2 separate regions of the Homo sapiens genome follow, and region 1 is linked to region 2. The links are contacts of gene promoters, found by promoter capture Hi-C in human tissues and cell types (Jung and others, 2019). All regions are on one chromosome and are shown on one strand. Each heading gives the region's core, a stretch centred on a gene start or on the middle of the fragment in contact. The rest is flanking DNA. Distances are from core to core; before and after follow the strand shown. Region 1 overlaps ITPR1 (inositol 1,4,5-trisphosphate receptor type 1). Region 2 holds the start of SUMF1 (sulfatase modifying factor 1).

Region 1 (7,464 bases), core at 2,324-4,823, 130 kb after region 2:
CTCCAACACTGGGAATTACAATTCCACATGAGATTTGGGTGGAGGTGCAGATCCAAACTATATCAAAACTCTTAGACTCAGCATAAGACCTGGTATATATTATAGTTAATTTTGGCCATTTTATGTATGAGGAGCTGGGGTGTCGGCTTAGAGATGTTTTTAAGAGCAGAGAGTGAACAGGCCTACAAGGACAGCAAGGCCAAGAGTAGGAGCTGGGGGTTGCAGGGAGGTGGATGCTTTGAGGGGAGGTGATGAAGAAGGTCGCATGGCACCAAGACTGGAGAGGATGAGGTCTGAGAAGTCAGTTGACTTTAGCATTTAGGTCACTGATGACCTTTGAGAGCATTGTGGTAGCATGGCAGTGGCGGAATGTTCTTAAGAAATCAGAAAGGTCAGGTATGGCTCTCATGTCGTAGATGAAGAACTATGGTGACTGTATGTTTTTCTTTGAAACTGGCCTAAGTGCAGCCTGCCCTGCCACTCCCACAACCACTCAACTGATGAAGGTGATACCAGAAATGAAATCAGATCCCCTGATTTATTGCAGGGGGTGGGGGCGTTTGCTGTGAATACCAGCAGCGGTTACAGAATTGTGACACGTCCAAATTACAGACAAATGCTCTTCTCAAAACTTCTCTGCACTTTGGAAAGCTCTGCATTTCACCGAGCTTAAGTTGCTATCTATGTATCTATACTTCAGGTAAGTTTCTACAGCGAAATTTCCTGATGAGCCAAGAATTAAGCAAAAGTTCCTTAGAGTTTATTGTAAACGGTCTGACTTTATGGTAAAAAGCCAAGGCTTTTTACCATAAGATAAACTCTTTCCATGAGTTTTTCTTTCCTGCTTTTAAAGTATTAGTTTTTAAAAATGTTTATGTCTACTCTGTATTTATCATCTTTGGTTCCAAATCGCAGACTTATTAGCTGAGTGAAGTAATAGTCTGTTCACTATATACAATGGTGTTTGTTGCTTTACTAATCACTTATTTAAAGCTAGCACGGTTGGAACATGGGGTTTATTTGTGTTTCAAAAGGCTTAGCAACTGGTGGTCACAGATGGGTTTTTAGTTATCTGAACCAGGTTGTTATTGTAATAAAGGTATAAAGTGTCACCTTTTTGGTTTGAGGTCATATGGGTTATATGACTGCCTCTGCTAGAATCCTTTTAATTCTGGTAGATGGAACTGTCTTTCCTCCCTGAAATCTTAGCCTCTTGTGATCAGAGCTGCTCGTTAGCTGCTGGTCTTCCCACAGTCACCTTTCATTTGTATACCCTGGCAGTGTTTAAACCCCAACTCCTCCATGCTCATTATATAGGGCAAGCCAGATGTCACTCCCTGGGGGAATAGGAATCTGGTTGTAATTCACATGGAAACAAGTTGACTTTATATTGTTTCTCTGGGTCAGTAAAAGTACGTCACCTTTTAGAGGCTGATAGTTTTAGTGTGTTGATATGTTACCAGGGGTTTGCCGCTTACTGTATGTTCAGCAAAAGAGAGTTAGGATTGTAGAGCATTGAGTGAGTACATTTGCTCAGAGAGGACTGCGTGAGAAAAGGAACTATGTGGCCTGTCTGAAGGGGTCTTCTTATTCGCCTCCAGCTTCTTGCTGCCATGCAGAAATATGAGCCCCGTGGTGCCAAATCCTGGTTCATTTGTTTTGTTTGTTTTTTAAGGAAAAGATGTGGAGGTGGATTTGAATGTGAAATTGCCCTCTTTTAAAAATAGTGGCAATTAATACCAGCCTGTTTAAAACATTGTGTAGGCCAGATAGAATGTTGTCTGTGAGCTGGATTTGGCTTGAAGTCAACCAGCTGGCAAATTTTGCTTAAGGTAATGTTTTTTAAATGAAGCTACTATTAGTCCAGTAAATATATCCAGATGTGCAGAACAGCAAGTAAGGTTTTATGGGGATTTGGGTGTATGTAGATGATGAAGACGTCATTTGAGCCCCCACGGAGACTGTAGTGTGGTAAGGAAATGACACAGTAATCCGAGGCCGTATAGAAGTATCCTAAGAGAGGGAAGACAAAAGGGTGTTGGAATTTCCCAAGTTGGAGAGATGACTTCTGGCTGGCATCACCGAGGGAAAGGGGCATTTGGGCTCCTCTGTGAAAGAGATGAGGCAAGGGGGCACATTCTAGGCACCAGGGAGTGTGCATCAAATTGTAGAAATGAGAGAGAAAGCAAGCTGTGTTTTGGAAGTGGTCAGTGACCCGGTTTGGCTAGAGGTAAAGTCCAGGTTAACTTTGATCTGGAAACTGCAACCTGGTGTGATATGTGATCCTATTTAGCCATTGTTCATTGCAGGTAACCTCCTAGCTTGGCAGACCATTCCTGGCTGTCTGGCCAGAGTTTAAAGTATACAGAGTCACAGTGGCCTTCTCACTAGTGTTCATGCCTGAACTTGGTTTTGCAAACATCTGTGGAGACCAATCCCATGTACTAGGAGGCAGATAGTATTAGAAGACTCAGATTCAGAGAGCTAGGTTGATAAACCATCCTTCAGCTTTCCTGCGGTGTGATTCTGTGACTGAGTGCCTGCTGAGTCTTCCGTTTCCTGCGTCTTATTGGTTGGCACATGGCATGGGCCTTTAGCACCTATGCAGGGTCTATGGGGCCTTGCATGGCTAGAACTTTAGTGCTTCCTCTCAGTTAAAATTTGTACCATCCTTCCCCTCTCCCCTGGTTGAAAGGAAGCAAATCCTCCTCTGTGACCTGTCATTGGCTTCTGTGCATGTCATATGGTAGTAATCTCTTTAACCAGGATGTGTGATACTTGAGTGTAGCAAGGAGGTCCTCTCCTCACTTAGGGGAGACCCTTGTTTGAACAGAGAATTAAAAAATAAAGGCAGGCTGGGTGCAGTGGCTCACGCCTATAATCTCAGCACTTTGGGAGAATGAAGTGGGTGAATCAGTTGAGCCCAGAAGTTTGAGACCAGCCTGGGCAATGCAGTGAGACCCCGTCTCTACAAAAAAATACAAAAATTAGCTGGGTGTGGTGGTGGGTGCCTGTGATCCCAGCTACTCGGTGGGGCCGAGACAGGAGGATTGCTTGAGCTCGGGAGGTTGAGGTTGCAGTGAGCCATGATCACACCACTGCACTTCAGCCTGGGAGATGGAGCTAGACCCTGTCTTAAAAAAAATGCAGAAAAGTTTTAGGAAATATGGTTATCACTTCTGCCTTTAAGATGTTCATAAGTGGCTGAGTTATATATTAAAGGCTCTGTGAAGTCTTGCAATAAAGAAATTGTCCCAACTTTGTCCCAATGTAGTTTTCCAAAATTATACCTAAAAATTTGGGCTCTAAATCAGAGTGTTTCAATTCAGGTGCAATTTTATGTCATTTCCTGAACTTCTCTGAATCTCACTTTACTCTGAGAACATCGTCAAACCCACTGGGTGTCCCGGTACCTCTCACAGTGGCCATATCCACTATTTTTCCTCTTTTGTACAGTGTGGCTTCCAGAACTAAAGGTCATATTCTAGGTGTGGTCTATAGTGCACAGGATCATTACTGATGAGCTTTTTTTTTTTTTTCATCTTTTCTGGCTATCACCTAATTTTGGGAAAAACCTATTGAAATGTTCTCACTTGGAGACTAATATTGAGAATACTTACTGAGGGTTTCCTATGGGTAAAATATTTCATTTTTACTACAGTCCTCAGATGGGGATCCTTTATTGTTAGTCCCGGTTTGCTGATATGGATATGGGATCTCAGAGAGGTTGAATATGTTGCCTGCGGTCACAGAGCTAGTAACCACAGAGCCTGTGTTCATGGCCTTCACTCTCTGTAGCTGCAAATCAGCAGCTCATAGGCTGACTCCTGCTCACGCTTGTTTTTTGTTTAACTTGCACAGTGTTTTAAAATCTGAGTTAATTGGTTTACCCTTACAGTTTGGGAGATTTTACATAAAAAACAAATTTCTGGCTTTTGGGGGAAAATGCAGAAAATCTAGCCACAGTGGATTAGCATTGCCAGATGACAACAAGTGTCAGAAACTAAGTAAAGCTTTCTTCTTTTGAGGGGAGAAGGACTTTTACAGTCTTGCCAACATCCTACTTCCTTTGGTCCTCACCTTACAGTTCTTGAGTGATGGCTGTAGGCAGTTGGGTTTGTGATGCTGTACTTGATTGATGAAAACTGGGAACAAGAGAAGCAGTGAACTCTAAACGTGAAAATGGTTGAATGAAGGACCTTGGTTGCAGCAAGCCTTCCCCTACTCCGACAGTGGCTGCTGTTTTTGCAGCTGAGTTCTGCAGTGTGTTGGACTTGACTTCCCTGATACCAGCAGGAGGCACATGTGTGATATACTCTCCACTGGATCAGTCTTGGAGTGGACAGTGTCAGGTTGGAGTGCCAATATGTAGGGTGTTGGATATAGTTGTCAGTTTTGACGTATGTATGAAACCGTGAAACTCACCACAGGATAATGAAGATCTTAGTCTCTCCCAGAAGTCTCCTCCTGCCCATTGGTTGTCCCTACTCCCTCCTTCCTACACTGGTACATGCCCCCAGGAAGCCTGATGTGCTTTATCGCTGTTATTTGCATTTCCTAGCATTGTATGTACAAATGGAATTGTACAGCAAGTCTTCTCTTTTGCCCGAGCTCTTTCACATAGCATAAGTATGTTACAATACATTTGTGTTGTATGCATCAATAGTTTATTTAGTCTTTTTGTCTTTTTTAAAAATTTTACCTCTGTGGCATTGTTTCATTGCATACCACAGTTTCCACTCAAGGCAGATTTTTGGACATGCTGGCCCCCAGTTTCTGGTACCCACAGCCATTCATTCTACACATCCCTCAAGTTCCCTTGTGAATTAGAACTGGTGTTGAGGATTTCTGTGGTCGTGTATTGATTCTGTGATTCTAAGGAGATTCCGAGCCCCAGGTTTTGTTGTGGGTGGTCTTGCTGGGGATACTGTGGATGGGCTCTTTGAGGGCCCACAGGCTGGAGCTCGGAAAGGGTACCATCTCTACGGACCTTCCTGTTTTGTGTGTGTGTGTGTGCGTGTTTGTGTGTGTGTCTGTGTCTGTTTTGAGAAGAATTTAAATAGCTTTAATTTTTCGCCTCTAAATTGAGAACATTTTCCTGGCATTTGTCAAATATATGTGAATGTTTGTGTCTTCTACGTAAAATGATAGTCCGTGGACTGTTTAGTAACTGTAATGTGGGGATTATGGTGTGAAGGGTGGCATTTTGGGAATGTGAAGTTGATGGTAGACATATTCCTTGGGAGGTCAGGATTGGGTCACATGAGCTAATTTCCTGTCGCTCTAAAATTGATTCACTCCCCACCCCCAACAAGGGCGACTCCCACAGAATGTCAGTAGCCATCAGACAATGCAGGAATGGAGAAATAAAAATATGAGCACTATTTAATTTGTTGATTGTGTGGGGACAACTCATGACAGCACACCATGATTTTTGTGTTGTTCAGAGATATTCATTCATTGTTAAGTTGCATTTCTTCCTGGAGTAAATTAATTCTTTTCAGAAAGTAAATATTTTCTGAGTAACTAATTGAGGAATTCTGTTCTTCTTTTGTTAGTGGTGGTGGGCTGTGGAGAGGGTTTGGTAGACATGAATCACCTGTTAGATGTAAAGGGGAAGGAAACCCATAATTTATGGTCAATTGATTTTTCAACATAGATATCAGAACAATTAAATGGGGAAAAATATTCTTTTTTTTTTTTTTTTTGGCACTGGGGCAACTGGATTTCCACATGCAAAAAAGTAAAGTTGAGCCAGGCTCATTGGCTCCTGCCTGTAATCCCAGTACTTTGGGAGGCCAAGGTGGGAGAATCACTTGAGCCCAGGAGTTCGAACCCAGCCTGGGCAACATGGTGAAACCCTATGTGTGCAAAAAATACAAAAATTAGCCAGGCATGGTTGCATACACCTGTAGTCCCAGCTACTCGGGAGGCTGAGGTGGGAGGATCACCTGAGCCCAGGAGGTCGAGGCTGCACTGCACTGTAGCCTGGGCAATGGAGTGAGACCCTGTCTCAAAAAAAAAAAAAAAAGTGTTGAACACCTACCTCACACTGTATGCAAAAGTTAACTCAAAATGAATCAAAGCTCTAAATATAAGAGCTAAAACTATACACCTCCTAGAAGAAAACATAGGTGTAAATCTTCATGGTCCTGAATTGGGTGACAGGTTCTTAATATGACACCAACAGCATAAGCAATAAAAGAAAATTAGATAAATTGCACTTCGTCAAAATTAAAACCTTTCCTGCTTCAAAGGATACTGTCTAGTGAAGAGACAACTCATAGAAAAGTAGACAATACTTTCAATTTTTTTTATGATATGGGACCAGTATATAGAGTATATAAAGACTTCTCACAGCTCAATAGTAAAAGACAAATAGCCCAATTTAAAAATAGGAAAAAGATTTGAATAGACGTTTCTCCAAAGAAAACATATAAATGGCTAATAAGCACATGCAGAAATGTTCAGTAGCATTAGTCATTAGGGAAATGCAAATCAAAATCACAGTGAGAAATCCCTAGGATGGCTAGAGTAAAAAAGATGTACAATAATAAGCAGTGGTGAGAATGTGGAGAAATGGCAACTCTCACACATTGCTGGCAGGATTGAAAATGACACAACCACTTTGTAAAAGTTAGGCAATTCCTCAAAAGGTTAAACATAGAGTTACTATATGATTCAGCAGTTTCACTCCTTAGGGATATACCCAAATGAATTGAAAACATACGTCTACATAAAAACTTGTACACGAGCCAGGTGCACCTATTTACACCTACAATTTCAGCACTTTGGGAGGCCAAGGTGGGTGGATTGCTTGGGCCCAGGAGTTTGAGACTAGCCTAGGCAACATGGCAAAACCCTGTCTCTGCTAACAACAACAACAACAAAAAATTAGCCAGGCATGGTGGTGTGCACCTGTAGTCCCAGCTATTCAGGAGACTGAGGTGGGAGAATGACCCGGGCCTAGGAGGTCAAGGCTGCAGTGAGCTGACATTGCACCATTGCACTCTAGCCTGGGTAATGGGAGTGAGACCCTCTCAGAAAAAAAAAAAAAAAAAAAAACTTGTACATAAACATTTATAGCAACATTATTCATCGTAGCTAAAAAGTAGAAACAACTCAAATGTCCATCAGCTAATAAGTGGATTTTAAAAAGGGTTGTAGACACACAGTGGAATATTATTCAGTCATAAAAAGGAATGAAGTGCCAGTACCTGCTACAACATGCATGAACCTTGCAAACCTCGTGCTAAGTGAAAGAAGCCTGTCACAAAAAGGCTACCTATTTTGTGATTCTATTTATGTAAAATACCGAGAATTCATAGAGACAGACACTAGATAACTGGGCTCTTGAGAGAAGGGGAGAATGGGGAGTGACTATTAATGGGTATAGGATGTTTTTGTGGGGGATAATGCAAATGTTCTGGAATTCGATAGTGGTGGTGGTACCAATCTGTGGAT
Region 2 (7,700 bases), core at 2,645-5,144:
AGCTACTTGGGAGGCTGAGGCAGGAGAATCATTTGAACCCAGTAGGCAGAGGTTGCAATGAGCCGAGATTGCACCACTGCACTCCAGCCTGGGTGACAGAGCGAGACTCCGTCTCAAAAACAAAACAAAACAAAACAAAAAAACACTAGCACCATATTGAAGAAAATATACAAGTTGTCATCAAACAACAACAAAATAAGCTATGGGAACTGAGAGGATAGAAAAACTACTTCTTTGTAGGAGGTGGAAAGGTTTCATGGAAGAGACGGCATTCGATTGTGCCTCATTGCCCAGGGAAGCATTACCAGTCAGAAACCTCCTCAGACAGGAAATCAAGACTGACTTTATCCATATGTACAGACATGCCACCTACAATCTTAGCATCCCATGATCCTAAATGCCTTTCAAATAACTCTTCTAAAAGATAAAAGCAGACTAAAACATTTTGCTTCCTTGTTACAAAATCATAACCCACGCAGAAAACTATTAGGATAATTTTCTCAATGAGAATCATATTTTTATAACCAGAGGGAATACACATTAAATTTTTAAACATCTATATTGTTTCCCAGACAATTCTAATCGCCATAACTTTCTAGTGAAACTGAAAATTTCTTGAGGGCAAAGCCCAGTGTTATTTCTCTGTGCCCCTCACCTTGCCACACACACTCATTGTATGAATACACAAAAACAAAAAAAGACTCATCTAAAAAGTGTTACATTAAAAAGTGTGAACATGTCACTCCCAGATCTTAAATCACTTATGTTTCCCAGCACACACCACGCATTTCCACAATGTGCCATGTGTTGATACTATTCTCCTTCTTGGAATGTCCTTGAATCTGGAATTCCATTCCCAGCTCCGAAAAATATTTCCTCCAAGGCCTAGCTCAAATGTGGCCTTTTTTTTTTTGAGGCACTACTCGACTTGTCCATGAAGAATTAATTCTTTCTTCCTCTCCAGGTACTCTGGACATATCCCTCCTATAGTATTCTCACTATAGAAAAATGATACTTATGTGTGTGTCTGTGTGTGTTTGTGTGTGTGTGTGTGTGTGAGAGAGAGAGAAACACCTACCAGAGTGTAAATGCCATGTGGGTAGTGTATGGGTCTTTTTCTGTATGCCCAGCACATAGGATGAATCTTACATAACAAGTGTTATATAGTAATGTGCCAAATAAACATTTGTTTAATTAAACCAAATAAACAGAAAACAAAGAGGGGAAAAAAGGCAGAAACACCACTATGCTCATTTACTTCTCCTGAAATATTGGAGTTCCTGAATTTAGAATAAATGGTAAAGTGTCAGAATTAGACCAAAGTCATCTGCACATGAACTAAAACATTTGAAACCAAGGAAAATAGAGAGATTAAGAACAGCCTCCTATGACGTCATTGTCTTGATAACAAGACTGCTTCAGTTTCAGTCATTAAGTTCAGCCCTTGAAGGCTTGAAGGTATATTCTCATCAACCACTAATTTGTTAATAAATTGAGATGCCCCTAAGCATTGTAGAAAGCAGACTATAAGAACTGGCCAAAGATGGCCCATATAGCATCCAGTCAAGACACAAAACCACTCTATAGGGATGAAAAATGTACATCTTGTAAATGTAATCCAAAAGATTCTAACATCCACATCCCATTCTGGAACCCAGAGGAAAATAGAATGTTTAAAAATGAAAAATGTTCAATGCTTGCCAGAGGAATCTAGATAAAATTTTGAGACAGACCAATGTATATATGCAAATGAGATGGCTGCCCTATTAAAAAATAGATAAACAGATGTAAGGATTTCTCCTTAGAAAGAGGGACAGACTGGCTTGGCGCGGTGGCTCACGTTTGTAATCCCAGCACGCTGGGAGGCCAAGGCAAGCGGATCACAAGGTCAGGAGATTGAGACCATCCGGGCCAACATGGTGAAACCCCATCTCTATTAAAAATACAAAAATTAGCTGGGTATGGTGGCGTGTGCCTGTAATCCCAGCTACTTGGGAGGCTGAGGCAGGAAGGAGAATCATTCGAACCCAGGAGGTGGAGATTGCAGTGAGCGGAGATCGCGCCACTGCACTCCAGCCTGGTGACAGAGCGAGACTCCGTCTAAAAAAAAAAAAAAGAAAAGAAAAAAGAAAGAGAGATTGATTATCAATTACCAGGCAAGTTAGAGAGGAATTAATATCAAGTATGGCCAATACACACTAAAACAGTAATCAGGAGTCTTCAACACACAAAAGATAAACAGTACTGCAGGACATGCTCTAAGGGTAACAGGAAAAAAAGTAAAGGCCAAAAATTATACAGGATGGAAAAACAATGAGAAGCCCAGGTATCAACCTCCTACACTCTACACCTGAGAGACTAAATCATGGTCCTGACCCCATCACCCTCACAGTCCAGTTGGGGAGAGACATCAGCAGAAAAACATCTTTAATAATTGTTATGTCAGAATAAACACATAACTACTGAGGCAGGATACGGAAATATTGAAGGGGAGAGAAAGAGGAGATCAGGTAAAACCTACTGTGGATGTTACCTCTCACCTAAGTCCTAAATATTGGTCAGGATTAACCCAAAGGAAAGAAAAATGGAATGGGAAAAGGATAGTGTCTGCTAAGTAAACAAGAAGGAGCACTAGTTTAGGAGTCAGAAGACCTGACCTTTAGACCCATAAGTTGTTTCGACAACACATCAATATGCAAAATACCGGGCAGACAGATTGAAGTAACAGTTATTTCTTTCTTTCTTTTTTTTTTTCGAGACGGAGTCTCGCCCTGTCGCCCAGGCTGGAGTGCAGTGGCAAGATCTCGGCTCACTGCAACCTCCGCCTCCCGGGTTCCAGCAATTCTCCTGCCTCAGCCTCCCGAGTAGCTGGGATTACAGGCGCCCGCCACCACGCCCGGCTAATTTTTGTATTTTTAGTAGAGACGGGGTTTCGCCATGTTGGCCAGGCTGGTCTCGAACTCCTGACCTCGTGATCCGCGCGCTTCGGCCTCCCAAAGTGCTGGGATTACAGGCATGTGAGCCACCGCGCCCGGCCAGTAAGTTATTTATATATCCCGGCACCTAACACATACAGGCGCTAAGCAAGACAGATAAATAATAGCAATAAAACAACTACAGTTTGCTTAGCCCTTCCTAAGTGCTAAAGTGCTAAGAATAGCAGGATAAACAATTCAAGCCCTTGTCCTCAAGCAGAGTGTACTCGAGGAGACTACAGATAAGTATACAACAACCCTGGTGAAGATACTGAGACCCAGGATCCTAATTTATTCCGTTAATAAGAGAGGAAATGGTGATTTAAACCATAATTTGATTGCCTTAAAATTATGAGATCCTCATTAAGAGAACAGGTTGGAGGGAGAAAGAAATAGGGGGTAAAGAAGTAACAATAACCCTCAAACCAAACTCCCTAATGGTCAATTAAATGGAGTCTTCCGGTGAGGCACGGAGAAGGAACTCCTCATACGGGAACAGCAGGTGCTCGATTTGGGGTGTGGTTATAACCTTTACTTCCCTTCCTACTAGTGCCTTGCTTTGCCTACTCCAACCCCGTCCAGGAACCGAGCAGCCCCCACCCGCCTCGGAGGAATCGATGGAGCACCTTTGAGTGCGCGAGTTGCCGCTCTCCGGGTACGGGGCCCGGAGCGTTAGCCTCCCGCGAGTATCGGTGAGCGGCTGCCGAACTGCCATGGGCGCCAGGCCGCTGGGGCGTGCCGCAGCCGCAAGAACCCGCAAGGGACCCCGCGCCCGCACCGGTCCCGGCCTCCTGGCTCCCTGCCGCTCCACACAGCAGCGAGAGCAGCAGCAGCAAGAGGACGAGACCCAGCTCAGGGCAACGTCCACACACCAGCCCTAGTGCGGGCGCAGCCATGTTGTCCCGCGGGCCATGTGACCCGGTTGGTCACGTGGCTGAGCCCTCCTTAAAGGGGCAGAATTTTGAGCTGACTTACGAAGTGACCAGGAGAGTTGCTCTTCACCTTTCTTCAGGTACTTCTTTGGCGCTGCTGCTTGCCTGTGCTAACGTCAAAACGCAGCAAAACACAAAACTCCACAAAACTCAAGGCCTTCCACAGACCGTGCACCCCTTTATGATTTCTTGGTTGAAAAATAACAGTCAAATTTGCTGGGCATTTGGTAAGTGCCAGAGTACTATGCTAAGCACTTCACTTTTTAAAATCTCATTTAATCCTCACAAAGACCCAGTAATGGCGCGCTTGTAGTCCCAGCTAGTCGGGAGGCCAAGGCAGGAGAATCGTTTGAACCTGGGAGGCGGAGGTTTCAGTGAGCCCAGATCCCGCCACTGCACTCCAGCCTCGGCGACAGAGCAAGACTCCGTCTCAAAAAAAAAAGAGAAATACAATACGGAATCAGAATCCGTGGGGACTGGACACAGCAATCCAGGGTTTCACAAGCTCTCCAGATGATTCTAATCCACACTTAAGTTTAAGAACCACTGTTCTACAGTTCCGTAATCGAACAAAATGCAAAACCAAAACAAAAAGAAGATGAAGGAGAAACTTACAGATTAAAAAACAACATAGCAGGCCGGGCGCGGTGGCTCAAGCCTGTAATCCCAGCACTTTGGGAGGCCGAGGCGGGTGGATCACGAGGTCAGGAGATCGAGACCATCCTGGCTAACACGGTGAAACCCCATCTCTACTAAAAAATACAAAAAATTAGCCCGGCGTGGTGGCACGCGCCTGTAGTCCCAGCTACTCGGGAGGCTGAGGCAGGAGAATGGCATGAATCCGGGAGGTGGAGCTTGCAGTGAGCCGAGATGGCGCCACCGCACTCCAGCCTGGGGACAGAGCAAGACTCCATCTGAAAAAAAAAAAAAAAAAAAAAACATAGCAGCCAGCTGCAATATGTGAACCTTATCTAAATACTAATTCAAACCTACTGAGTTCAAAATTTTTGAGATAATCAGGGAAATTTAACCACTAAGTCAAATTATAATATTTGATAAAATTAAGGAATTGCTGTAAATTTTGTTTTTAGGCTTTTAGGAGTAATAATGGTATTTGTGGCTATATTTTTTAAAAGAATCCCCTCACTGAGGTACACACACACTCACTGAGGTATACACACACACACACACACACACACACATATATATATATGGATAAAAATATAGGCAGTCAAAGATTTGCTTCCCAAAAAATGGGTAATCAGGGTCTGGCTAAAGATGAAGCATGATTGGCCATGAGTTGATAACTGTCATAGCTGGTTGATGGGCATCTGGGTGTTTATTGCACTATTCTAATGTAGCATCTGTTTGAATTTTTTTAGCATAAAGAAAAGACCAGCCAGGCACCGTGTCTCAAGCCTGTAATCCCAGCACTTTAGGAGGCCGAGGCAGGAGAATCGCTAGAGGCCAGGAGCTTGAGACCAGCCTGGGCAACACAGCAAGACCTTGTCTCTACAAAAAATTAAGAAAATTAACTGGCCATGGTGACGCACACCGGTGGTCCTGGCTACTTCGGAGGCTGAGGCAGGAGGATCACTTGAGCCTGGTAGGCAGAGGCTGCAGTGAGCCATGATTGTGCCACTGCACTCCAGCCTGGGTGACAAAGTGAGACCATCTCTCAAAAAAAAAAAAAAGGCCTTTTCTCCTTGTTGACTATTTTACAGTTTGCCAAGGCCTTTCACACATTTTCTCATTTGAGATTACAACCACTTGGCAAGAAATGTATTATTACTATACTCATTTCAAAATTGATGAAGCTAAAAGGTCAATGCCTTAACCAAGGTTGTATGTATTTACTGTGCATAATATATAGTCAAGGTCTAGGTCAACGGTAATCTTTGTTCGCCTCCTTCAAATATCAGTCTCAGCACATGCTGTGTCAGCTGCGCTTCAGAGACCTGAACTTCTTTGATTCCTGGTCCAGCTATACCATTAGGCTATAACCTCCATGAAGGTAAGGCAGGAGCCTATTCGTTTGCCACTGTATCAGCAAAATCAGGCCAAGCCTGCACATGATCACTCAGTGAACATTTATTAAATTATGGATAAGTGAATGAACAAATGAAGTAACGATTATCTCTTTCTCTTAAGGGGAATCAAATTGTGGAGAAAATAATATAGGTCTTAGACTCACAAAGAGCTGTGGTTAAAGCTGGCCACTTTACATGAAGTATGACCTAGGCAAATTATTTCAGCTTTCTGAGCCTCTATTTCTTCGTGTGTGAAATGGGAATAATAATTCCTTTTTCTTATAGATTTTATGGGGATTAAATAACACAAAGTATATAAAAGGTGTAGCCTGGTACCTGACATTTAACATATCTCAAAAATAACTTTGCTATTACTAATCATTATGAAAGATGGAACTTTGTTGGTTCTCCAGGACGATCATTCTTTTGTCTCAGGCTAACTTTTTAGTCAATAATCAATGAGTATGAGATCGATGAGAGATTTCTCATCAATATTTTCCACTCTAATATTTTGCTCCTGTCAGTGAGGAGGCTTGTTCTAAAAATTAAGAGGTAAAAAGTCCAACTCAGCCATCAGCTCGTACGAATTAGTGTAATTATATAAAATATCTCTCACCCTCCGTCTCACGTGTGAGCTCCTTCTGCATTTTGTAGCCTTTCTTGCTCCTTCTATCTCATGAAGCTGGGAGGATGAAAGACCCCAGTCCTGAAAGCAGCTTGTCTGCTCACTGAACATCAAAGAGTTCAGCATGGCTACAGTGGAGTGAGCAAGGGGGAGAGAAGAAAGGAAAGGAGATGAGAAAGGTAACATTGGGCCAAGTCATGGATGAAAGGAGAACAGAAAGGTAACATTGGGCCAAGTCATGGATGTTCTGGTAAGCTTTTACTGTGAAAGTTGGTGCCACTGCAGTTTTGAGAAGACATCTGACACTCTTCCTGCTGAGCAGCATCAATTTTCCCTCCAGGTTAGAGGCTTCTCTTGCTTTCTGGTTCCTGAACACAGGGAATGCAAAGTGCCCTGATGGTAGCCATGGCTTGTAGTTCAATGGGACCCTGGTTGTGTCCACAGAAAGACAGCATCCCTTTGTGGATCAGGACCTGCAGCTCTGCAGAGCTCAGAGTTGCAGGGATGGGAGAACAAAATCCCAGTAAGTCAGTAGGAGTAATAGTAAGTGGGGCTACTTCTACTTCCACCTCTTGGTGGAACCTATATATTCTTCCTACGTGGGAACAAGTCTGACATCTCTAATTGAGGGCGTATACTGCATCCTTATAGATGGCCCCATCTTTGCAGGAAATTGCATCCAAGCTGGCGTTTCAGCTGTGCTTTCAGTAAGCCATTTTCACCCTTTATGAGGCCAGCTGCTTTGGGTTCGTATTGTAAGGGATAAAACCACTGGATTCTGTGATCATGGCCTACCCCTGCACCTCCTTCACTGTGAAGTGGGTCCCCGGTCAGATGTCATGTGGTGTAGGAATATATGCCTATGCATAAGGCATTCTGAAAGCCCTCAGACAGTGATGCTGCCTGAGGCTCTTGGAGTAGGAAAGGCACAAGTCAAAATGTTATCTACTTCACACGTGCAGGACACTTGGCTCCACTTTTTGGGTTTGATGAATAATGTTGATATGAACATCCATGTACAAGTTTTTGTTTGCACATGTTTTCATTTGTCTTCATATATACTAGAAGTGGGATTGCTGGGTCATATGGAAATTCTAACCTTTTGGGTTTGGGTTTAAAAAAAAAAAAAAAACAGGAT

What was found. The method cuts DNA at HindIII sites, captures the fragments that hold promoters and counts their contacts. A contact is called where the count stands out against the background at its distance.
Region 1: a contact is called between a fragment that was not itself captured here and the fragment with the promoter of SUMF1 in region 2, in 1 of the 25 tissues and cell types used here (liver).

What each region holds. Positions count from the first base shown.
Region 1 is chr3:4,595,485-4,602,948 of GRCh38, forward strand. The region is part of intron 4 of ITPR1 (inositol 1,4,5-trisphosphate receptor type 1); the gene reads left to right. Among named protein-coding and RNA genes, the nearest start is that of ITPR1, 110 kb to the left of the region's middle. The HindIII fragment of the contact is 4,418 bases long and covers 1,365-5,782 here.
Region 2 is chr3:4,463,375-4,471,074 of GRCh38, forward strand. SUMF1 (sulfatase modifying factor 1) reads right to left here and starts at 3,895. Exons shown (of 9, transcript NM_182760.4): 1 at 3,602-3,895. The coding sequence starts at 3,871. LOC124909340 (a long non-coding RNA gene) reads left to right here and starts at 3,450. Exons shown (of 2, transcript XR_007095789.1): 1 at 3,450-4,134; 2 at 5,290-6,025. RefSeq lists a silencer at 3,592-3,771 and an enhancer at 3,942-4,121. The HindIII fragment of the contact is 11,378 bases long and covers 1-7,700 here.